Regions from separate parts of the Homo sapiens genome. Here all the other regions are linked to region 6. The links are contacts of gene promoters, found by promoter capture Hi-C in blood cells and fetal thymus (Javierre and others, 2016). All regions are on one chromosome and are shown on one strand. The core of a region is centred on a gene start or on the middle of the fragment in contact, and the rest is flanking DNA. Distances in the headings are between cores, read along the strand shown.

What was found. Contacts are between HindIII fragments. The CHiCAGO score rates a contact against its expected background, and 5 or more counts as called.
Region 1: a contact is called between a fragment that was not itself captured here and the fragment with the promoter of FAM168B in region 6, in 2 of 17 cell types (fetal thymus and M2 macrophages). The highest score is 9.8, in fetal thymus.
Region 2: a contact is called between a fragment that was not itself captured here and the fragment with the promoter of FAM168B in region 6, in 1 of 17 cell types (fetal thymus). The highest score is 7.5, in fetal thymus.
Region 3: the fragment with the promoter of ZRANB3 here is called in contact with the fragment with the promoter of FAM168B in region 6 in 10 of 17 cell types (total B cells, naive CD4 T cells, non-activated CD4 T cells and 7 more); the score reaches 32.5 in total B cells.
Region 4: a fragment that was not itself captured here is called in contact with the fragment with the promoter of FAM168B in region 6 in 1 of 17 cell types (total B cells); the score reaches 9.7 in total B cells.
Region 5: a contact is called between a fragment that was not itself captured here and the fragment with the promoter of FAM168B in region 6, in 2 of 17 cell types (total CD4 T cells and total B cells). The highest score is 9.4, in total CD4 T cells.
Region 7: a contact is called between a fragment that was not itself captured here and the fragment with the promoter of FAM168B in region 6, in 9 of 17 cell types (total B cells, neutrophils, naive B cells and 6 more). The highest score is 23.9, in total B cells.

Annotation. Positions count from the first base shown.
Region 1 is chr2:135,981,777-135,985,270 of GRCh38, forward strand. It overlaps DARS1 (aspartyl-tRNA synthetase 1), which reads right to left. Exons shown (of 16, transcript NM_001349.4): 2 at 1,621-1,678. DARS1-AS1 (DARS1 antisense RNA 1) reads left to right here and starts at 3,400. Exons shown (of 4, transcript NR_110199.1): 1 at 3,400-3,494. RefSeq lists a silencer at 3,487-3,494. The HindIII fragment of the contact is 526 bases long and covers 1,591-2,116 here.
Region 2 is chr2:135,879,511-135,882,910 of GRCh38, forward strand. No RefSeq gene overlaps it. Among named protein-coding and RNA genes, the nearest start is that of MCM6, 4.8 kb to the left of the region's middle. The HindIII fragment of the contact is 3,748 bases long and covers 1-3,400 here.
Region 3 is chr2:135,529,753-135,533,267 of GRCh38, forward strand. It overlaps ZRANB3 (zinc finger RANBP2-type containing 3), which reads right to left and starts at 1,466. Exons shown (of 21, transcript NM_032143.4): 1 at 1,375-1,466. R3HDM1 (R3H domain containing 1) reads left to right here and starts at 1,732. Exons shown (of 27, transcript NM_001378107.1): 1 at 1,732-1,881. RefSeq lists enhancers at 779-858, 1,209-1,478, 1,447-1,741 and a silencer at 1,709-1,898. The HindIII fragment of the contact is 14,144 bases long and covers 1-1,619 here.
Region 4 is chr2:126,641,881-126,644,981 of GRCh38, forward strand. No RefSeq gene overlaps it. Among named protein-coding and RNA genes, the nearest start is that of GYPC, 13 kb to the right of the region's middle. RefSeq lists enhancers at 2,836-2,885, 2,966-3,065. The HindIII fragment of the contact is 1,205 bases long and covers 977-2,181 here.
Region 5 is chr2:135,756,458-135,759,996 of GRCh38, forward strand. The region is part of intron 5 of UBXN4 (UBX domain protein 4); the gene reads left to right. Among named protein-coding and RNA genes, the nearest start is that of UBXN4, 16 kb to the left of the region's middle. The HindIII fragment of the contact is 2,986 bases long and covers 1-2,862 here.
Region 6 is chr2:131,091,792-131,094,847 of GRCh38, forward strand. It overlaps FAM168B (family with sequence similarity 168 member B), which reads right to left and starts at 1,669. Exons shown (of 7, transcript NM_001009993.4): 1 at 1,423-1,669. RefSeq lists a silencer at 1,123-1,842. The HindIII fragment of the contact is 2,381 bases long and covers 739-3,056 here.
Region 7 is chr2:135,736,043-135,739,445 of GRCh38, forward strand. No RefSeq gene overlaps it. Among named protein-coding and RNA genes, the nearest start is that of UBXN4, 4.1 kb to the right of the region's middle. The HindIII fragment of the contact is 983 bases long and covers 901-1,883 here.

The DNA.
Region 1 (3,494 bases), core at 604-3,103, 4.9 Mb after region 6:
TCCCATCAGCCTCCTGAGTAGCTGGGATAAAAGGTGTATGCCACCACGCCTAGCTAATTTTTTTACTTTCTGTAGAGATGGGGTCTCACTATGTTTCCCAGGCTAGTTTCAAATTCCTGGGCTCAAGTGATCCTCCCAACTCAGTCTCTGAATTTTGGTCTTTTATTGTATTCTTTCCCAACAAGCCTGGGAAAGAAAAGTGATTTTGTGATCATGTGGCAAATCAAATATAACAATAAAATTAACCTAGAGGTGTTTTATTTCCAAAGCATAATATTCATAGGCAGCCCTCTAAACTGGAAGCAGTGCTTCCAATGGGCAAGAATGTAAACGTCTACAATTACTGCACCAAAGAGTGAGAGACGTAATTTGAAGTGTCTACCAAAAGAAAAATTACTGTCAAATAGTTAAGTAAGACAAATCTGTTGAAATTACATATATAGAATAGAAGTAAAAGAAAGGCAAACATTTATAAATAAAAAATCTACAGGTCTGAGAGAAACAACATGAGTCAGGTCAATTTCAAAGAAATATAAGGCCGGGTGCGGTGGCTCACACCTGTAATCCTAGCACTTTGGGAGGCCGAGGTGGGTGGATTGCCTTGAGTTCAGGAGTTCGAGATCAGCCTGGGCAACACAGTGAAACCCCATCTCTACTAAAATACAAAAAAAAAGTGAGGCGTGGCGGTGTGCGCCTGTAGTCCCAGCTGCTCAGGAGGCTGAGGCAGGAGAATTGTAGGAACTTGGGAGGCGGAAGTTGAAGTGAGCCGAGATCATGCCACTGCACTCCAGCCTGGGCGACAGAGCGAGCCTCTGTCTCCCAAAAAAAAAAAAAAGAAATATAAAGATGCCAACATACACTAACAAAAAAGAGCGGTTATAAGAAAAGATAGACTGGGGTCTAAGAATAATTCATTTCATTCCCAGACACTAAAGCTACGAGTAAACAAAATGGAGTGGGGGTGGAGGCTTTAAAACTCAAATCATAGTACTGCCAAAGAAGCCAGAGAAGATGTAAGATGGAAGGACCCATGGACTCTAGGGTCAGATGGCCTTTGGTTCTAATCCCAAGTCTGGCAGACTCTGTGTAAGTCAAGTTTCTTATCTTTCAACTTTGGTTCCTTAGTTTTCAAGGATGCTGTAGAGAATAAGTGAAAATATAAATGTTTGGGAAGAGTCAAGCAAAATAGGAATAAATAATAGCTAAAAACAGTCAGAGAAGTAAAGTTGTGGGGGTTGGGGGAAGTAAAAGAGGTAGCTTTATTAAAGCATGCAAAAAGGCTACATGTGATGAAGGCAGTTATTAGCCACTCTCCTATCTCCTAGACAACGGTTGAATCTTACCTAATAATTTAGGAATATTTAAAAAATATAATCTACCATTTAAAACATACCATTTAACCTACAATACCTAATAACATTTTTTTTCCTTTTCTAGAGTTGGAACCCTAAACTGACAATGTTTACACAGGGTTATGACATCTACTTGGATTATTAATGTCATTTAAGCTTTTCAGAATTATACCTTCAGATTTATGCCAACCTTACTTAAAATTTCATTTAGAGCTTTCCTGGAATTAGAAAGCAAAAAAGCTTTATTTACTGTCACATAGCTACTAACCTGGTTTTTCTTGTGATTGTATCATTGAAGATATTCCATATCTCTCTTTAGCATAATCCTACAAAAAAAGTTTTTTGCATCGTGACTTTTTATGTAAACACTAAGAGCACAGTAAACACATAAATACTAATAATAGAATATAAAAATGAATTTAACTTTCAGGATCATTTTATTAATTCAGAAAGTCAGTAGTTTCATAATGTGGAAATCTCTCATTCATTTACATATGTACTCTACAGAAAACAGAAAAGTACTGTTTCTGGTTAGTTTGTTTTGAAGATCACCACTCCTAGATGGATTTACCATACTTAATAACATTCTCAGATAAAATTTACACATATGTACAACACATCTTAACTACCTTCTTCAAAAAGATGAAACTACTTCAAAGCAGGGACATAAATTTCCTCTGTGAAGGGAGTAGGATGAAGTACCACAGTTTTATTAACTTCCTATTACAGGAAGAAATGTTCAAAGAGAACCAACGTTTTGGGTAAGCTTTCTGAGCACCAGATGTCCACAGTTTTTAGAAACTGGAGATGCTGGGTATAAGCTAACTACAACTTTCCTTTTGTAAAACATCATCAAAAAATTCACCAGCTTCCTGTTTCTAAAAACCAGATTCAGGATACCAGGTTACAGGAGTTTGACACTGACAATATAATAATATCAAATTTCTTGTTACAGATTAGAGTTAGGAACAGGAAACAGAAGACCTAGGGTCCAATCTGTTAACAAAATATACTTATTAAATAGATAAGTGGCCTTTATTTCAATCTTACTTTACCTCTAAAATGATCTAAGATTCTTCTAGCTATAAAATGGCATAACTCTGCCACAATGTCTACCTTGTATCTAGACCTATACTATCTGTAAGGGTACACTGATAGTTTATGTAATTAAGCAGATTAAGAGTACACAAAAATAATTGCCCTAGTTTTTACAAGGTAACTTAAGATCTGTATGAAACAATTAAGTTTCTGTCACTTTACAGCTACCTGTTGGAATCCTCTCCTTTAGAGCAGGAGGGTGCTGGATTTTGTGTTTACACCAAAATAAAACCAGACATGTTTAAGGCGCTTACTGAACAATTTAAAGAAAAAGATAACCCTGGCCAGAGTAGAGAGATACAGTCACACAATGAAGCCTGAGGGCAACAGAAGGAGATTAAATTGTGTGAAGGACAAAAAAGTTGCATTCATAATTAGTACTATTAATATTTCAGTGACTCTTCCTCATTTAGTATTCTAAGATGACCTTACTTCTCATGTTGCTTACCACAAACTCAGAACTCCTTATAGAAAAATTAGGGAGCCAGACGGAAATTAAGGCTTAACAGTACTACAGCACACATAACTTGTAGGATGGTTTCAAACTTTGATTTCTGAAAAGCACCGAAGGATCACTGGGTGTTATGAATTATCCACGTGATTTGGGGTCACTTCACCTCAAATGCATTCTCGGTAACTCCTATTACCTACCTTACCGGGTCACTGAGAGGGAGAAAGTAAATAAAAATGACATGTGTTCTTTAAAGCTGTCACATGGGAAATGGTCATTAAACATATTGGCAGATGGTTTTGCTAAGTACTGTCATTACTTGCTAAAGCATTAGGAACACGAGGGCTGAGTACATATCGATTACTAGTGCTTATTAAAATTTTCCCAGGGATTGTGCATTACGTGCAGGACGTGCCTAACCCAGAGAGACTCAAGTGTGACGCCGCGCTCCTACTTCCGGGGCGGCTGGTTCTTCCCGTCCTCCCCACCCCGGGGACACGCTTCTAGTAGGCCAAACTCCCAGGTGACCCCCGCAAGAAACGCGGTCCGGAGAGGGTCTGGCCCCACTGCTGGGGCAAGGGCTCTAGGCGCCC
Region 2 (3,400 bases), core at 482-2,981, 4.8 Mb after region 6:
TTTCTCAGAACTAAAGTCCCATGTACAGAAGGAAAAAAACAAAAATGATAGTGCAGAGCTCCGGGCTGATTTTCAGCTATGCTCATTGAGAAACTCAAGGCTTCCTCTTCTCAGCTCTCCATATCTCACAGGTGTTCCCTTCCTCCTTCAGACATGTATCTCTGAATCAGAATAGTAGATGATGTCTGTAAGTGAGGTTTGTAGGGATAACTTCCACAACAGGAGGAGGGTATGAATTATGAAATATCTCTGTCACACCCCAGAAAGTTGTATGCTATGTGTGTGCACTGGTGCCCAGGCCTGCTTGCTATCCTTAGAAAGTCCTGTTCACAAGATTGGCCTTTGGCTGGCATTGGGAACTTGACTGGTAAATAATTCTCTACATCGATATAACACTATCCCTTGATAATGATGGCTCATTGTACCTAAACTGTACAATGTGATTTATGCTGAATACCTGGAAGTCTAAAATTTTTTTTTTTTTTTTTTTAAAGACAGGGTCTTGCTGTGTCACTCAGGCGGGAGTGCAGTGACACAATCACGGCTCATTGCAGCCTCGACTTCTTGGGATCAAGCGATCCTCCTGCCTCAGCCTTCCAAGTAGGTACATGCCACCACGCCTGGCTAATTTTTGTATTTTTTGTAGAGACGAGGTTTGGCTGTGTTGCCCAGGCTGGCCTCGAACTCCTGGGCTCAAGCGATCCTCTTGCCTTGGCCTCCCAAAGTGCTGGGATCACAGGTGTGAGCCACCACACTGGGGCCTTTTTTTTTTTTTTTTTTGAGACAGGGTCTTGCTGTGTCACCCAGGCTGGAGTGCAGTGACACAATCATGGCTCACTGCAGCCATGACCTCCTGGGCTCAAGTGATCCTCCCACGTCAGCCTCCCACGATGTGCACCACCATGCCTGGCTAATTTTTATATTTTTTGAAGAGACAAGATTTCCTCATGTCACCCAGGTCAGTCTTGAACTCCTGGGTTTGGGCAATCCTCCCAAAGTACTGGGATTACAGGTGTGAGACACCATGCCCAGCCATCCATGATTCTTTTTAAAAAATTATTTTAGAATAGCTTTGGATTTACCAAAAGTTGCAAAAGATAGTACAGAATTTTCAAATACACCTTGCCTATTTTCCTTTACTGTGAATATCTTACACTCTTATAATACATTTATTACAACTCAGGAACCAACTTTAGTATGTTAGTATTAACTAATATTGCACAATTTATTCAGATTTCACCAGTTTTTCCCTACTGTTCTTTTTCTCTTCCCAGATCTCATCCTGATGCCACATTACACTTAGTGGTCATGTCTTCTTAGACTCTTCTGGTTTGTAACAGCTTCTCAGACTTTCCATAGTTTTAATGCCAATGTCTCTCAGTTGGGATTTGTCTAACGTTTTTCTCATGATTAGACAGTGATTATGGGTTAGGGAAGGATGATCACAGAGGTAAAGTATACGGTTTCTTACCATTACCTTATGATTTTGAAGCAAAACATTGTATCTTTTCATTTGTAGATATTTCAGAATGATTTTCTAAAACATAAGGGTTCTTTTTCCTGAGACATGTTTTTAGCTGGGAAGGAAACATCCTTCAAACAGCTGTAGCAGTGCAGGTTAGTGATGCTTATTATTTTAAATATAACTGTAATATTTTCCAGAATCACTGACACTTCAACTTACACTAAATAAAACCAGCAGATTAAAAAGTTACATGATTTGTTGTGGGTGGTGTGCAATATTCAATAAGATATTTCTCATATTATGAAATATTTTCTTTCAATGCAGTCAACCCTCATCTTATAAAATATTTGGTATATTTTACTTCTTTTTTATTTATTTATTTAATTTTTTGAGACAGCATCTCACTCTGTCACCCAGGCTGGAGTGCAGTGGCACAATCACAGCTCACTGCAGCCTTAACCTCCTGGGCTCAGGTGATCCTCCCACCTCAGCCTCACAAGTAGCTGGGACTACAGGTGTGCACCACCATACTCAGCTAATTTTTGTATTTTTTGCAGAGATGGGGTTTCACCATGTTGCCCAGACTGGTCTCAAACTCCTGGGCTCAAGCTATACTCTTGCCTCAGCCTCCCAAAGTGCTGGGATTATAGGCATGAGCCATTGTGCCCAGCCCGTTCTACTTCTTATTAACAACAACAACAACAAATGTATGCTAGCTGCTAACCAGTTTTTAGCAGTATGACTTTCTTCCTAATTACTTAAATAAGCAAAGTTTGATCTTGATATCTAACAAAATAAGTTCAACTATGATGTCTAACAAAATAAGTTCAAATAATGGCAATTTTTAGTTATTTTTATATGATTCTTAGTTTTTCCAAAAGCTGAACACCAGAATTCCATACACACACACACACACACACACACACACACACACACACACACACAGAGTTAATTTTATGTGCCAACTTGAGTGGGTCATGGGCTGCCCAGATTAAATATTATTTCTGCTTGTGTCTTTGAGGGGTTTCTGGAGGAGATTAGCATTTGAATAGACAGAATCTGTATAATAGATTGGCCTGCCCAGTGTGGGTGGGCACCATCCAGTCAGTTAAGGGCCTGAATGGAACAAAAGACAGAGGAAAGAGGAGTTTGCCCTCTTTTCCCTGCCTTACTGCCTGAACTGGGACATCTTGTCTCATCGTATGCCTTCAGATAAGATTTACACCGTTGTCTCCCCTGGTTTTCAGCCCTTCAGGTTGAGACTGAACTACCTACCAGCTTTCCTGGGTTTCCAGCTTGCAGATGCCAGCTCATAGGATTTCCCAGTCTCCTAATTGCATGAGCCAGTTCCTCATAATAAATCTGCCCCCCCCCCCCTCCTATTAGTTCTGCTCTCTGGAGAACCTGGCTAATACACTCACTTTTAACTTTCATATACTCCTCAATTCATAATAACCTATCATTTTAAATATACTTTACATTATATTATAAATTAAGAAATATGAAGCTGCATACAAATTTACTCTTGTTTTATAGCTACCATAAAATGCTTTTATGTCCCCCTTAAGATCCTCCCAGGTTCACTTGTCTGTCATTCAGCTCCATATGGGCTCTGAGTCGCTCATTGATGACTCTTGCCCTCTGTGGCTCTCAGGCTTCTCCGTCGTCCCCACTGAGTAACAGGCTCATGCCTCTCAGAAGCACCTTGAAGGAGAGAGGGGTTAAGGCCCTGGAGAATCCTTGACATTGGTCAAAGACATGAGTCAGTGATTAAATTTCTTCTCTTTAACCAATCCTCTGCAGATGGATATTTAGGTTAGGTTAGGTTAGGTTAGGTTAGGTTATTTGCTCTCTGCTCCTCCGTTAGAAATAACAGTACAATTAGCATCTTTGCATGCATGTATTTCTGGAGGTTAAGTTTCTGGAAGAGCTAGT
Region 3 (3,515 bases), core at 216-2,715, 4.4 Mb after region 6:
AATCCTCCCGCCTCGGCCTCCCAAAGTGCTAGGATTACAGGTCTGAGCCACCGCGCCTGTCTGCCACTCGTTTAATAAATGGTCGTTACTCAAAGAGTGGTGATGGGGCCACTCTTGATTATCAATCCTTCAAACAGAAAAGCCCTTTTCTGTGACTCTTTTCCTTCCAAGCTGACTTTAGAAGTGTGTTTGTGGCCGGGCGCGGTGGCTCACGCCTGTAATCCCAGCACTTTGGGAGGCCAAGGTGGGCGGATCACGAGGTCAGGAGATCGAGACCATCCTGGCCAACATGGTGAAACCCCGTCTCTACTAAAAATACAAAAAATTAGCTGGGCTGAGTGGCGCGCGCCTGTAATCCCAGCTACTCCGGAGGCTGAGACAGGAGAATGGCGTGAATCAGTGAGCCAAGATCCCACCACTGCACTCCAGCCTGGGGACAGAGCAAGACTCCGTCTCAAAAAAAAAAAAAAAAAGTGTGTCTGTAAATGTAGTTCAGAACTTCGGAGCCCTGTCTTTACAGTTCAAACTGACCACGCGAAGACTAAAGGCAGTAGAGGTACTTTCTACAAATTTAGCCGTGCAATCTAATAGCGAGCAGGCCGAGACGCCCGCGATTGAAGGCCGGGGTGGAGAAAGTAATAAGGGCCCTGGAAATTACCCCCATCCCATGTCACCCACTCTTTCTTAAAATGCCATTAAATTCCGTTCAACTTTTTATCTCCCATGCAAGAAACTAGCGACTTGCCAGCCACGCCACTTCCAGCCAGTCACACCTGGCGTATTCGCCGCAGAATCTCCAACTCCCGCCACAGGTTTGGGACGTGTCCGCCCCTAAGCGGAAGTGACGTTCAACGGGACAACGTGAAAGTAGATGAGTTTAAATACGTACTAATAATTTAAAACCCCTATGGTATTTTGAGGAAACTCTTCCGGCTACCCTTCTTCCATCACTTCTCTCCCGTTAGGGTTGCGAAAAGGGCTCTGTACAGCCTCGCGACAACTCGTTCTCCGCCCTAATTTCAAGTCATTCAAAACTCTGTCCCTTTTCATTGGCTGAAGCGGCGGCATGGGTACCTCTCAGGAACTACAATTCCAGCCAAGCACCGCGACAAGTGAACGGAGGAGAAGTTATGAGTAGGGGAAAAGCATGTTGGGAATCGTAGTCCGCTCCAGGCCGAAAAGAGCAATCACCCCGCCCTCCGCCACTGAAGCTGGAGAAACCAGGTGTTCGTTTCAGAACCCGTTAGCGCTAAGGGGAGGAGCCAACCCCTTAAGCAGCATGCCTCACTTCGCCCCACATGGAGGATAATTTTCCTTTACCCCTAAAAAGCACTATAAATACCCACTGAGGAGATCTGGTTGTCTTTTAAATACCTCGAGTCAGTAAAAACTCACGAAACTCCGCACCTCAGGCTCCAACTCGTGGGAAAAGGTAGCTCTTTTACAAGTGGGCAAAATGGCTGTCCTCCTAGTTTTACCATTGGTTGGCTTTTGCGTCCTTCAAGGGCGGTTACTTACCACGGATTGGTTCTTTTTCTCTTGAGGTTGGAGGAAGATTTGGCACGGCTCTCCGCGGCCTGGGAGGAGGTAAAGGGGTGGAGAGAAGACAGTTTTTTTCAAGCTTGATTGGGCAAAACTCATGTCACTCCGGGGACGTACAACCTATGAATAGTCGGCTGCCGCTCAAAGAGAACGAAGAGGCGGGGCTAGTGCGTGGTGGGAAGGGGCGGGATTCTGCCAGCCGCGGCTGCCGCTGGAGCCGGTGTCCGGGCTGGTGATGGGGTTAATTCCCTTTCGTAAGACTCTTACTTGCACCCACCCAGCCCCGCCGTCGCCCCGCCGCGCCGCGCTCCAACCGCCTCCTCCTCCTCAGTAACGCGGGTAAGAGATGCCCTTCCCTCCCCCGTCCAGCTCCCCGGGAATAACGCGCCTTGCTCCCCTCCCCCGCCCGCCAACCGGTAGCGCTAACGGAGAAGGAGGCAGGCAGGGGAGAGATGTGGTGTGTGGAAAGGTGGCCTTCCCCGCCGGGTCGTCGGCGCTTCAGCCAGGGCCTTCTGACGTCCCGCTGCTGCCAGCCCGCCGTTAGGTCGGGTTCCGAGTGAGCCAGGCTCGCCTGGCCCGCGGCTGCGGCTCCGGCTGCAGCTGCAGCCACTGCCTTGTGCCCACCGCCCCCACCCGGGGGCCATGTGAAAAGCAAACCCCTCGAGGCCTAGCGGAGGAGGCAGGGGAAAGGTTTCCGAGTCCCTGCCATGGCTGCTGCTGCTGCCTCCGCGGCTGCTCTTGCAGCCCCAGGGACTCGGGAGCCAGCCACAGCAGGCCTGCCAAGAGCGTGGTACTGCTCTCTCGTGTGGCTGGCGCCGGTGCCCCGGGCTCCCCCGGCCGCCCCACGGCCGCATCCCCTGGCCTTGCACCAAGAGAATTTTCAGCTTCGACCGGTTGGTAAAATGTAGGTACATTTTCCCTGTGGTACCAGAAAAAGCACAATGGGAATATTAAAAAGAAAGTTGAATGACTGTCAGTGCCACGGTCCCCCGGGATCAGATTTACACACGTTTTGATTCCTGAGCCTTAGGCTGCCAACAAATCTTTGTGGGCTTTGAAGTTTTTTGGTGTTTTGTTTTCTTTTGTTGCTGTGACTAGGTGCAAAGGGTGACTCTGTTGAGCTTGTTTTTATAAAGAAACTTAAATTATTGGGACTATCATGCTCCGTGTGTAATTGTCCTGGGATAGTTAAGTAAAAGGTGAAGAAGAGGTGCTTTCCAAATTAGGATTAGTGAACAGCAAATGGTTTTTCTAATAAAATTTTCTAAATATATATATATATATCTTCATGGTTATAGTTTACCTAATTGTAACTGTAAGAAACCTTTTTTAGCTTAAATATCATTGATGACAAAAACTTTTAAATGAAAAGATGATTAAAGTCAAACTGAAAGTCTACCCATTTATAATATGTGAAACAAGATCTTCTAAGTAATAGGATACCAGTCTGACAGGAATAATTGGACACGTCTCAATTTCTAAAAATTTGGCATATTTGGCTATTTTTAGGGCATTCTGTTATGATTTCTTCATCACATTTTGATGGAGTACGCTCGTCTTTTCAAATACCACTCTGCTTTTATGCCTGGAAGAATATGTCTTTAAATCATGGATTCTATAGTCTGTAGTAGACATAACTGTGATCAGAGATAAAATTCTAGGCCCATTTCTGAGGTTTACTTGTTAGCAGAATAAACTTGGGTTCTGAGGAAACATCTGAGTTTTGATCATTTCTTCAGGGTTTGAGAAGACTATGGTGGCTTAATGATCTTCTGTATTCCATAACTAGTACACCTAGTTACAGAATTGACATAGATACATTCAGGTCCTGGAGGAAATTTGTGGTATCTATTAAAAAAATGAAAATTGCCAGTCATGTAGTAGTCACCTGTAGTCCCTGCTACTCAGGAGTGTGAGGTGAGAGGATCACTTGAGCCCAGGAGTTCAAGGCCAGCCTAGGCAATATAGCAGAA
Region 4 (3,101 bases), core at 329-2,828, 4.5 Mb before region 6:
ATGTTTCAATATGAGATGTGGGCAAGGCATACATCCAAACTACATCAGGAGGCATTCACTTCCCACACTAGTGGCTTTCTTACAGTTTCTTAGAGACATCCACACTTTTTTGTCCCTGTGGATAAACTTTTGTGGCCTGCCTGACATTTTGTACCCAGAAGTGGGGAAGTGGGGAGGATATACATGCTCCTACTGCAAGCAGAGACCTTCAACCCTTGTCTTCATCCCTAGTTCAGACCCCCACCCTCCAACCAGCCATCTCTGAGCCCAGACCCCTGTGGCTCTGGCAGTCTAAGACCCCCGCACCCCGCACGCACACACACCCTTCCTCTGGGCTTCCTTTGGGCTGCAGTCCCCAGCTCTCTGTTGCCTCCCCCTCAGCACACTCCCACACCCCATCCAGCAGCCAGGAATTCCCAAAATCTCACAGGTGGCTGGAGGAACCCCTGTGCAGCTCGCAAGCTTATTTCTTCCAGTATTCCTTTATACAATTGGAATGGGCTCCCCAGAGGGAGAGAGTACAAAACATGCTAAATCTATGAACTTGAGCCAAATACTCAAAGGAACTTATAAATGAGAAAAAAACAGTTAAGAAATAAACAGTCACCCATATCCCATGGCCTTGGTATGACCATTCCTACCTGTGGGTGGAAGTAGTTATATCTGGATGTGGTCATGGCACAGCTAATCCACGCATGTGTGTTTATTTCACATGGTATTTTCTAGTTTTTTCTATAGCGTTATGAAGCCTTTGTCTTTATCATCATTAATGAAGCTGCAAACCTCCCAGGAGAGCCTGCCTCAACCCTCCAGAGCACGTCAGACACAGATGTCATTAACCTACGTGGGGGCAAAGTCACTAAGCAAAGCGGTAGGTGGCGAACCAGGAACGAGAGGCCACATCTGCCACATTCTAAATCCTGCTCTGTCCTTGCTTGTGAGACCATTCTGGAAATTTAATGAGGTTACCTAGCAAAGCTTATAGCAAAATTGTGGCAAACATCATTACCATTCTGTTCCCACTTCTTGGTAGCTGTTGGGGCTCAGAAAATAATACCCCAAGGTGTGGTGCTTGGACGCACTGAGTGCTTTGAACTAAGGAGCAGTCTCAGAACCAAGGTCTCTCTGACTCTCCCCCTGCCCCCTGTCTCTGGATCCTATTTCTCTCCCAAAGCACGTGGAGGGGCTTTCTCTGAAGTTTTCCTTGGGAAGTTTCTCCAAAAGAAATTCAATTGTCATGAATCCCCTCCCTGGTATCTACATTAACAAAAGAAGGTGAATTCTTACTGCAGAGAAAGAAACTAAGTCTCCACACCCAGGATACCATGTCCAGACGACTATCCAGGACACCATGCCCAGACAGACTTTTCACCTATTCTTCACAGGGCTAGATTCTGAGAGACCCCATCTGCATAATTCCCAAATTCCTGTCTCCTGTTGGCCAAAAAGAGAAAAAGCCACAACAAAAGGCCTAAGGAGGAGCTGCTTTCATCCCTTAGTGGGCTCCAGAGCTCAGCAGGGAGCAGCTCGAGATGCAATGTGTTAGTTCAGTGTCATACCAACAAATTATACCCAAAGGGAAAAGGGCTGGGACCCAAACAAGGCTTCCTGAAAGTTGGTAACTCACTCCCTCATTGTTGGAAGTTTTTAACTGAACCTCTTTCGGCAGCTCCCTGCCTCCTCTCCTTGTGTCTCAGGTGTCCAGCATGAATCACCCCCATGCAGCTGTGCCGTGGCACCAGGAGTCCATGGGGACATGGGGATGTGGGAGGTGGGAAGGGAGCCCAAGGAGAGTGAGCTGGCAGCACTGCCATGGCAGGGCTTTAGAGGGCGACAGCCCTGGTTGGAATTCCAGCTCAGGCACCGAGCCGCTGTGCGAGAGTCACTCCTCTGGTCCTCAGCTTCTGTCAAATGAAGAGTGAACAGGAAAATAAACAAAAACAAAGCACCACCTGTTGTGACAATTAGCTGTGACAGTTAATAATACTCATATGCTCAGGAAATGGGTCCTATAATCCTGTGCCTGCTGCCATGCATTTTTAGGGAAAAATACACACTTCCTGGAGCATCTGAACCACCCAGGTTGCCTATGTGTTGCCTCCTTTTTTCACTGACTTGCTAGAAATTCAAGCTCCTCCTCACGTTTCTCTGGGCTCTTTCTTTTTTCTCCCCTCAGTCTGAAGCTTCCCAACTTTTCTCAACCCCAGTCCATAGACATCGGCTTTTAGAGTGCACACCAGCAGTTGAGGCTGGCCTATGCATCGCCTCAGCCCACCCCAGACCACCCAGTGTTCCCATTGAGTTTTTATGCTCTTCCTGTTCTCTTAGAGATGCCCATTAGGAAGCTTCCAGAAGGGGGCCATTCTGGATGCTGAAAGATCTACCCTTGAATGAGGTGCTGCTGTAAGTCAGGGGAGTAGACTACAGCTCCCACAGCCTCACACAATGCTTGGGTGCTGTTGGGGCTCAGAAATCAATACCTCAAAATATGGCCCTTTGACATGCTGAACTGAAGAATCCTCAAAGTCTGTCTGGCTTTCCCCTTTCTCAGCTCCCCACCAACACCTCCTGGGTGTTAATCCTCTGTCTCTCCCAAAGCCCAGGATGAAGTTGTTCTCTGAAGTTCCCTAATCTGTCTAAAGTCTGGACCTTCCTAAGAAGAAAACATGATCCCTGGTCCCTTCCCTGGGCTTTCATTAACTGAACTCACATGTCAGGAAGAAAGTCTGAAGTCTGTCAACGCACCTGGGCAGACTTTTGTCACAAACCATGGTCTGTTCTTTAGGCACAACAGTTTGTCACAAGCCATTGTATGTTCTTCAAGCCCATTGAATTTCCCTAAAAGTCACTTATTACTCTCCTAAAATTACCCAAACTTCCTAATATGGTTTGGATTTGTGTCCCCACCCAAATCACATGTCGAATTGTAATCCCAGTGTTGGATGAGTGCCCTGGTGGGAGGTGACTGAATCACAGAGGTGGACCTCCCCCTTGCTGTTCTTGTGATAGAGTTCTCAGGAGTTCTCGTTGTTTAAAAGTGTGTAGCACCTCCCCTTTCTCTCTCTTCCTCCTTCTTCAGTCATGTAAGACAGGCCTGCTTC
Region 5 (3,539 bases), core at 120-2,619, 4.7 Mb after region 6:
CATAACTTCCTGTTAACATTAATGCTGCCTTGTGGAGTTACACATGACAGGTTTTGAATATTTGAAATACAGCTATTTGTCTCATTTTGAGGTTTTACATCGGATGGATCATTCAACTTCTGGATGTGTACGGAACGGGGGGACTCTATTATGGATGTTCATTTAGGTCTACGACAGAATAATTACTTTAATTGTATTTACCTGGATATATATCATTTCCAAAATTCTTCATTCCATTTTGAAGATAGACACATGTTTCCCTCTGGTATAATATTCTTTCAGCCTGAAAATTTTCCTTTAGCATTACTTATTGTACAGGTCTGGAGTTTTCTTTATGTGAAATGACTTTGTTTTATCTTCATTCTGGAAGGATATTTTTGCTGGATATAAAAATTTTTGTTTACAGTTACAGGTATTGTCCACCGTCTTCTGGTCTTCATAGTGTTCTAATGAGAAGTCTCCACAAATTCTGATTGTTCCCCCCTGTAAGGAGTATGTTGCTTTTCTCTGGCTGCTTTCAGGATTTCTTTCTTTCTTTGGTTTTTAGCAATTTGACTGTGATATGCCTAAGTGTATTTTTCTTTGTATTTATCCTGTGTTTGGTTTGCCTAGTTTCTTACATCTGTAAATGTGTGACTTTCACCAAGTTTGGGAATTTTGGTCCATATATCTTGCTGGAATGAATTACATGTATATTAGGCTTCATGGTATTGTCCCACAGGTTTATTTTTTCACACTTATTTTTTCTTCTTTGGATTGGATAATTCTGTTGATCTGCAAGTTCACTGACTCTTTATCATCTCCATTCTGATGTTAAGCCCATCCAGTGAATTTTTTATTTTAGATAAAATTATGTTATACATTTTTTAGTTGTAGGATTTCTATTTCTTTCTCTCTTATTATAACTTTTTATTTTGAAATAGTTTGACTCATAAGTTACAGAAGTTGTGCAGAATGAGTACTCTTCATCTACGTTTTATTCTTTTAATTCATTTCAAGTGTATTTCCCTTTTCCTCATTTGAGTTATAATGGCTGCTTTAAAGTCTTTGTCTGACAGTTTCAATATCTAGCTCATCTGAGGATTGGCTTGTGTTGATCACCTTTACCCTTTAGAATGGGTCACATTTTCTTGTTTGTTCATATGTCAAAAAATGCTGGATTGTATCTTGTACATTGTTGTAGACACTCTGGATTTCATTATATTCCTGCAAAGAGTGTTGTTTTTGTTTTAGTAGACAATTAACTTGGCTAGACTAAAACTGCAAGCTCTGGCTTACCTGAGGTGAGTAGCAGCTCTAATCTCAGTTTTTTTTTAGCTTAAAAAAAATTTTTTTTTTTTTTTGGTCAGGTGTGGTTGTTCACACCTATAATCCCAGCACTTTGAGAGGCCAAGGTGGGCAGATTGCTTAAGCCCAGGAGTTTGAGACCCGCCTGGACAACACGGCAAAACTCTGTCTCTACAAAAATGTGTCTGCAGGGTCTGGCTCTGTCACCCAGGCTGGAGTGCAGTGGCACAAACATAGCTCACTATAATCTCCAACTCCTGGCCCACGTGATCTCCTGCTTCAGCCACCTGAGTAGCTAGGACTACAGGTGTGCACCACCACACCTGGCTAATTTTTTTTTTTTTTTTGAGATGGAATTTTGGTCTTGTTGCCCAAGCTGGAGTGCAATGGCACAATCTTGGCTCACCACAACCTCCATCTCCTAGGTTCAAGCGATTCTCCTGCCTCAGCCTGCTGAGTAGCTGGGATTACAGGCATGCGCCACCATGCCTGGCTAATTTTGTATTTTTAGTAGGGACGGGGTTTCTCCATGTTGATCAGGCTGGTCTCAATCTCCTGACCTCAGGTGATCTGCTTGCCTTGGCCTCCCAAAGTGCTGGGATTATAGGTATGAGCCACCACGCCCAGCCTAATTTTTTAATTATATTCTTTGCAGAGATGGGGTCTCACTATGTTGCTTAGGCTGTCTCAAACTCCTGTCCTCCAGTAATCCTCCTGCCTTGCCCTCTGAAAGTGCTGGGATTACAGGCATGAGTCATTGGATCCAGGCCTGTAGCTTTTTAAAACTATTTATTATGGAAAATTTCAAACATACATAGAAGTAGAAAAAAATAGTATAAGAAAACCCCATTAATCCATTGCCTAGCTTCATGGCCAATATTCTCATCTGTGCCCTCCACTCCTCTTCTTTTTCAACTTATTTAGAACAAATCTCAGGTAAAATATTTCAATATGTATCTCTAAAATATAAGAAAGGAATATAAATCTTTTAAGATTATATATAGTTGCCTTTTAAAATAATTTTTTTTTTTTGAGACAGAGTCTCACTTTGTTGGCCAGGCTGCAGTGCAGTGGCGTGATCTCGGCTCACTGCAACCTCCACTTCCCAGGTTCAAGTGATTCTCCTGTCTCAGCCTCCCGAGTAGCTGGGACTACAGGCGTGCACCACCATGCCCGGCTAATTTTTGTATTTTTAGTAGAGACGGGGTTTCACCATGTTGGCCAGGCTGGCCTCGAACTCCTGACCTCAGGTGATACGCCTGCCTCAGCTCCCAAAGTGCTGGGATTGTAGGCGTAAGCCACTGCGCCCAGCCAAAATAAATTTTAATTATGGAAATTTGCAAGCATATTCTAAAGTAGAGAGAACAGAATAACGAACTCGAGGTACTCATCATCCTGCGTCAGTGATTCCCATTATTTGCTCGGTTTTTGTTATCTGTCTCCCTATATGACCACCCTTCCAGGTTATTTTGAAGCAAATCTCAGGCATTTGTATGATTTCATCTTTTAAAATATCAATATCTAAAAGATAAGAAATTTTTAAAAATAACAACAATACTATTATCAAAGCCAGAAAGCTTAATAGTAATCCTTTTTGTCATCAATTATCTAGGCAATATTTATATTATACTTTTTTTCAGTTTGAGTTACAGTTCGATATATTGCTATTGGTTGATGTGTTTTTAAATTTAATATATAGATTTCTGCTCTCCCTGGTAGTTTTTCCTATAGTTTTCCACAGTCTGGATTTTACTGCATCCCCATGGAATTGTGTAAGATGTTCCTCTATCCCCTTTATTCCTCTAAATTGGTAAAGCTACAGACTTGATCAAGTCAGCTTCATTATTCTTTTTGACAAGACTACTTTGTAGATGATGATGTATATTTCTCTCAGGAGATACATTATGCCTGTTATTCCAGTTGGCTTTTTAAGCCTAAAGGCGGAACTTCTCAATACATTTTTATTATATTTGGATTTTTATCAGTTGTTTTAGCTTATTGAGGTGTTTTTTCAATCCAGAATTTTTTTTTTTTTTTTTTTTTTGAGACAGTCTCGCTCTGTCTCCCAGGCTGGAGTGCAGTGGCGCTATCTTGGCTCACTGCAGCCTCCACCTCCCAAATTCAAGTGATTCTTCTACCTCAGCCTTCCAAGTAGCCGGGATTATAGGCACCCGCAACCATGCCCAGCTGATTTTGTATTTTTAGTAGTGATGAGGTTTCACCATGTTGGCCAGACTGGTCTCAAACTCCTG
Region 6 (3,056 bases), core at 419-2,918:
CATGAAAAAACTATTACTCTATTACGCTGGTGTACTGTTCTTTTAAAATTGTGCTCGGCCAGGCGCGGTGGCTCACGTCTGTAATCCCAGCACTTTGGAAGGTCGAGGCGGGCGGATCACGAGGTCAGGAGATTGGGACCATCCTGGCTAACACGGTGAAACCTCGTCTCTACTAAAAAAAAAAAAAAACAAATACAAAAAAATTAGCCAGGCGTGGTGGCGGGCGCCTGCAGTCCCAGCTACTTGGGAGGCTGAGGCAAAAGACTGACGTGAATCCGGGAGGCGGAGCTTGCAGTGAGCCGAGATGGCGCCACTGCACTCCAGTCTGGGAAACAGAGGGAGACTCCGTCTCAAAAAAAAAAAAAAAAGTGCTCAATTGATCCAGGAAAAGAAACTGTCTAAGACAACTTGGGTATAATTTCCCTTTAAACTACGGAACTCCACCAAAGTAAGCCTGCTTTGTAAAGACAAAGAGAAGCAAGATCTTCACAATTTCTGCAACACTAGCTTCAAAATTAGAATAGCCTTACACTGCTCAAATCTTGGCTGTCAAAGCAAAAATAACCCACTCCTTCATCTACAAGAGCTTAAAAATGTGTCCTGTTTTTGCCAAAACCAAAAAGTTTTATTTAATCTAGAATCTTTCATCCATAGTATTTGAGAAAAGTGATCTCAAATTACACAAGGATGACCTGAAAGTTTAAGGAGTGGAAACTATATAAACCTTTTTATTTATAAAGCTTCCTTGCATGCGAAAACACTGCAAAATATTCTTGTTTGACTTTAATGATTAAACATTAACTCAAACAGCCCATGAGATGCACACTTCATGTTCACATACACTATAAAACAGAAATACCCTTATTTGTGGACGTCGTAAAGGCGCACTGCACTCTTTTTTCAAAGTTAACCCAGGCTAGGCCACGAAACGTCCTTTCTGAAGGAAATCTTAAAAATCTGTAATTTAAATCGTGCCTTTTCAAGCTGGAAGGAGAACGCTCAGATTCCGCCAAGCAAAAAAATAAAAATAAAAATTATCTTTACTTCGTGGGTAGACAAAGTGAGCAGTTACACATTGGAAATGACTATTGTCACAAAGCTCTGCCCCCGGGTTTCACGCTCGCATTCCTGACGGCTGTGACCCCGACCTTTAGGAGAACGCCCCGCGCCGCGAAGCCACCTCGGCCACCTAGGCGGCAGGCCCGCGCCGCCCGGACCGCACCTGCACGCGTACGTGTCCGGCCGAGCTCCGCCCCCGGCCCCCGCCCGGCCTTGCCCGCGGCACAAAGCGCAGCCCAGGCCGGTCCAGACGCCCAGCGACCCCGAGCCGCGGGCCGACCTTGGCGCCGCCCCGAGCCGGCCGCACAAAGCGCCGCACTTCCGGCCTGGACGCGCAGTCGCCCGCTGCCCGCCCCCACTCACCGCGCCGCGGCGGCGACCTGGGCCTCAGTGACCAGCGCACGCCGGCCCGCGGCGGGCTTGGCCGTGGGGCGAAACAAGGGGGGCGTGCCGAGGAGACCTGCTACGATAAGAGGCTGACCCTCCGAGCCCCGCGTCTCCGCCGCCTCCCGGACGCCGCGCTCCCGCTCGCTCGGCTCCGCTTGGCCCGGCCCGCCTCTCCGCAGCCCGCGCTCCCCGCCGACGCTGCGCAGCCACCGGAGCCGCCGACCTCACTTCCGCCTGAGCGCGCCGCGACGGGGGCGCGCCGGGCACGTGACTGCGCAGCGTGCTCGCTCCCGCCGGCGCCCTCGAGACGCCCGGATGGACGAGCGCGAGCGCGAGCGCGGAGTGGGCCGGTCCCAGTTGGCGAAAGGGCCGGGTGTAGCTGTAGTTTTTTTATTAACTGTCTGTGAAAAAAGTATTTAATTTATATTTTGAGATAGTCCCGCGCCGCAGAAACCTTTGTGTGTGCCCAGACGCCAGGGCGCGGATCCTCAGGCCGCACCCGGGAGTCGAGCACACCCCGGGTGACCGCCACTACGGGGTCGGAGCGGGGCGGAGCTCAGCTCACAGATTCTTTGCCAGTGCGGAGGCTGCGGGCGCCCGCTCAGGAGTGCAGATTTTAGAGAATGCAAGTCAGCGTTTCAAGTGTAGAAGTGCGGGATCATTTCTATAGACAAGAGTTCAGGGAAGTGTACTAGAATGTTAGGGGGTTTTTTGGTTTTTTTTTGAGACGGAGTTTCGCTCTTGTCACCCAGGCTGGAGTACAATGGCGCGATCTTGGCTCACTGCAACCTCCGCTTCCCGGGTTCAAGCGATTCTCCTGCCTCAGCCTCCTGAGTAATTGAGATTCCAGGCGCCCGCCACCACACCTGGCTAATTTTTGTGTTAGTAGAGACGGGGGTTTCACCATGTTGGTCAGGCTAGTCTCGAACCCGTGACCTCAGGTGATCCACCCACGTTGGCCTCCCAAAGTGCTGGGATTACAAGTGTGAGCCACCGCACCCGGCCAAATGTTAGTATTTTTATGTAAGGCTTAGTGTATAGTTACAATGATTTGGTTAGTTCAGGGTGTCTCTCTGGGGGAGGTATGTTTATTATTTCGTATTAAAGAGGTGCGTGTCTTGGTGTTTGTGTTTGGGGTGTCGTCTGGTCTGAGCTAGGTACAGGACGACAAAGGAGGGAGTTATTGCAATAAAGATTAGTGATGGAAGGGAGGAGGCCTGGCTCTGGTCTTTTTTCAGTCGTTTATGAAATAAAAACAGATGGGCGCGGTGTCTCACGCCTTTAATCCCGGCACTTATAGGAGGCCGAGGCGGGCAGATCACGAGGTCAGGAGTTCAAGACCAGCCTGGCCAACATAGTGAAACCGCGTCTCTACTAAAAATACAAAAATTAGCTGCGCGTGGTGGCGCACATCTGTAACCTTAGCTGCTCTGGAGGCTGAGGCAGGAGAATCTCTTGAACCCGGGAGGCGGAGGTTGCAGTGAGCCGAGATCGGGCCACTGCACTCCAGCCTGGGCGACAGAGGAAGACTCCGTCTCAAAAAAAAAAATAAAAATAAAATATAAATGTGATAAAAGGACAAGAAGAAAACATGGGGAAATTCCTTTTTA
Region 7 (3,403 bases), core at 142-2,641, 4.6 Mb after region 6:
TGAACTCCTACCTCAGGTGATCCACCTGCCTCGGCCTCCCAAAGTGCTGGGATTACAGGCATAAGCCACCACGCCCAGCCAGCATTTTAAAACTCCATATTGCTGACCTGTTTCCTGCCCACTCTGAGCCCTCCAGGCCATTGCCTCCCCTGTACCATTTTATTTGTTTGTTTTTTTCTCCTTTCTGCATTTCTTTCCCTCCCCAACTTATTTATTTATTTATTTATTTATTTATTTATTTATTTATTTATTTATTTATTTTTGAGACCAAGTCTCACTCTGTTGCCTAGGCTGGAGTGCGGGGTGTGATCTCAGCTCACTGTAACCTCCGCCTCCTGGACTCAAGTGATTCTCATGCTTCAGCCTCCCGAGTAGCTGGGACTATAGGCATGAGCCACCACGCCTGGCTAATTTCTATATTTTTTGTAGAAACGGGGTTTCATCATGTTTGCCAGGCTGGCCTTCAACTCCTGACCTCAGGTGATCCACCTGTCTCAGCCTCCCAAAGTGAGCCACGGCGCCCATCCCCCAACCAATTTAGATTCCATGTTCCATCACATTGTTTGTTCCATTGCTAATCTCCTAAACTTCTTTTTCATTTGTTCTTTCTCCCACTGCCTAGCACCTAAAACCCTGGATAAATCCAAGTCTCCACTTTCTCCACGCCTGCCCTCAGGGATTAAGTGACCGCTGAAGAAAATTACACAATTGGGCAAATTCAAGACCACCAATTTCACAGTCCCTTCTGCACTGTCTGGCACACTGTGTTTCCCTAGTCCACTTGCCCTCCAACACTCAACACTACTTCAAACCTTGTTTCCTTGTACTCAAGGCGTCAATTTCCTTACTTCCCCCCTTACTCTCAGCAAATAACCTCTCCTTCAAGGAAAAAAAAGCTAAAGCTTTCACGTAAAATCTTCCTCAAATTATTGTTTTGAAATGTATAAACATATTTATGTCTGTTTTTTTAAATAAACTTATTTATATCTGAAGTTATTTTTTCAGCCAGGTGTGGTGACTCACGCCAGTAATCCCAGCACTTTGGGAGGCTGAAGTGGGTGGAATGCTTGAGCTCAAGAGTTTGAGACCAGCCTGGGCAACATGGTGAGACCCTGTCTCTACTAAAAATACAAAACAAAACAAAACAACAACAACAACAACAAAAATACATAAGTTATTTTTTCTTTCCTCTGTCTGTTAAAATGGGAAGGGTATCTCTTCTATCTGCCTGTATTCTAGATCCCACCCCAGATTGTTTAGAATGGTGGTAATTACAAGAAGCAAGATCCAACTTCCAGTAGCCTAACTAGTGAGGACAGTTACTATCTCACAAAACAAGACATATGGAGGCTGAGTAGTCCCAGGGTTGGTTCAGGAGCTCTGTGAGGTCATCATAGACACAAGTGCTTTCTAGATTCCCTTCTGCCATTCTTAGAGCATAAGCAATGTCTTTCCTCATGGCCACAAGATGGCTGCAGCAGTACCTGGCATCATTTGCATATAACCACATCCAGCAAAGGAAGATTGTGCCTTCTTTTTTTCCTTTTTCTTTGAGACGGAGTCTCACTCTGTCGCTCAGGCTGGAGTGCCATGGTGTGAGCATGGCTCATTGCAACTTCAACCTCCTGGGCTCAAGCAATCCTTCCACCTTAGCCTCCTGAGGACTACAGGCACACACCACCACACCCGGCTAATTTTTTCTTTTTTTATTTTTGTTTTTGTTTTTTGTTTTTTGTAGAGGCACTCTTACTATGTTGCCCAGGCTGGTCTAGAACTCTTGGCCTCAAGCAATCCTTTCATCTCAGCCTCCCAACATGTTGGGATTATAGGCATGAGCCACTGCGCCCAATCTGTGCTTTCTTCTATGTGTCTTTTATTAAGAAAGCTTTTCCTGGAAGTAGCCCCTCCCACCCCCCTACCCTTCCTACAAGGTTTTACTGGCTTCAAGGGGAGGTTGAAAAGCCCAGTATCTGGCAGGTTGCTTTGTTGTTGTTGTTGTTTGAGACAGGGCCTCACTCTGTAGCCCAGGCTGGAGTGCAGTGACGCAATCTCTGCTCACTGCAACCTCCGCCTCCCGGGTTCAAGCGATTCTCATGCCTCAGCCTCCCAAGTAGCTGGGATTACAGGTGCATGCCACCATGGCTGGCTAATTTTTGTATTTTTAGTAGAGATGGGGTTTCACCATGTTGGCCAGGCTGGTCTCAAACTCCTGACCTCAAGTGATCTGTCTGCCTCAGTCTCCCAATGTGCTGGGATTACAGGAGTGAGCTACTGCACCCAGCAGTTTTGCCTCTCAGTAGAAAGTGAATTCTGTCAGGAAGGAATAATAGAAGGCATGGTAGAAGAATGACTGCTGGATCGGCCATCAACAGAATGTGCTGTATACCCCATTTTCCCTCCCATCTCCAGAGGGGCCTTCCATTTTCCCATTTGTTCAATCTAAGACCAGTTCCTTTCCACTAGCATTTAATTTTATGCAAATCTCTCCCATCTTTAAAAAGGCTGTCTTTTCAAATCCAAATTCCTGTCCAGCTAATGTTCCTTTCTTCCTTCTCACCTTCACACTCACTGACTCTTTACCTCCCCTTACTTTTCAACCTTTTGCCATCTGGCTTCTGTACACAAGAACCATGAGAATTGCTCTTGCTAAGCTTAAAATGACCTCTGTGTTACTAAAAACAATGGACATTTTTTAGTCTCTCATCTTAATTGACCCAACAGCAGCATTCCACACCACTGCTTCTCCTTTCTTAAAATTCTCTCTACCCTTGGCTTCTTTGATATCACACACTCTCCCATTTTCTTCCACCACCCCACACTCTGCCTTTCCTGCTGAGTCTCTTTTACTGGTTTATACTTTTTAATACAACCCTATAAACGTTGGAGGCCCTAAGACCTCAATCATGCTCGTGTCTCACCTCACTTTGCACCATCTCCCTAAGTGATGGTATCGTTATCTTCCAGTGCCTCATTGATCCCCTGTATGTAGATAAATCTCACTTTCCTATCTCTAGTTAAGAACTGTTATCTGAGCTCCAAGACTAATAGCTATCTGCCTACTTAACACTGCATGTGAATATCTCTCTAGTACTCCAAACACATGTTTAATATTGAACTCACACCTTCATGAACAACCTCCCCACCATCCTTCACTTCTTTCAGTGTTGCCTATCTCAGTACCATCTTCTTTACGATTTTGCAAGGCAGATACCCCAAATCTCTCTCTCTCTCTTTTTTTTTAGAGACAGGGTCTTGCTCTGTCGCCCAAGCTGGAGTGCAGTGGTGCAGTCATGGCTCGGTGCAGTCATGGCTCACTGCAGCCTCAAACTCCTGGGTTCAAGTGATCCTCCTGCCTTGGCCTCCCAAAGTGCTTGGATTACAGGCATGAGCTAACACACCTGGC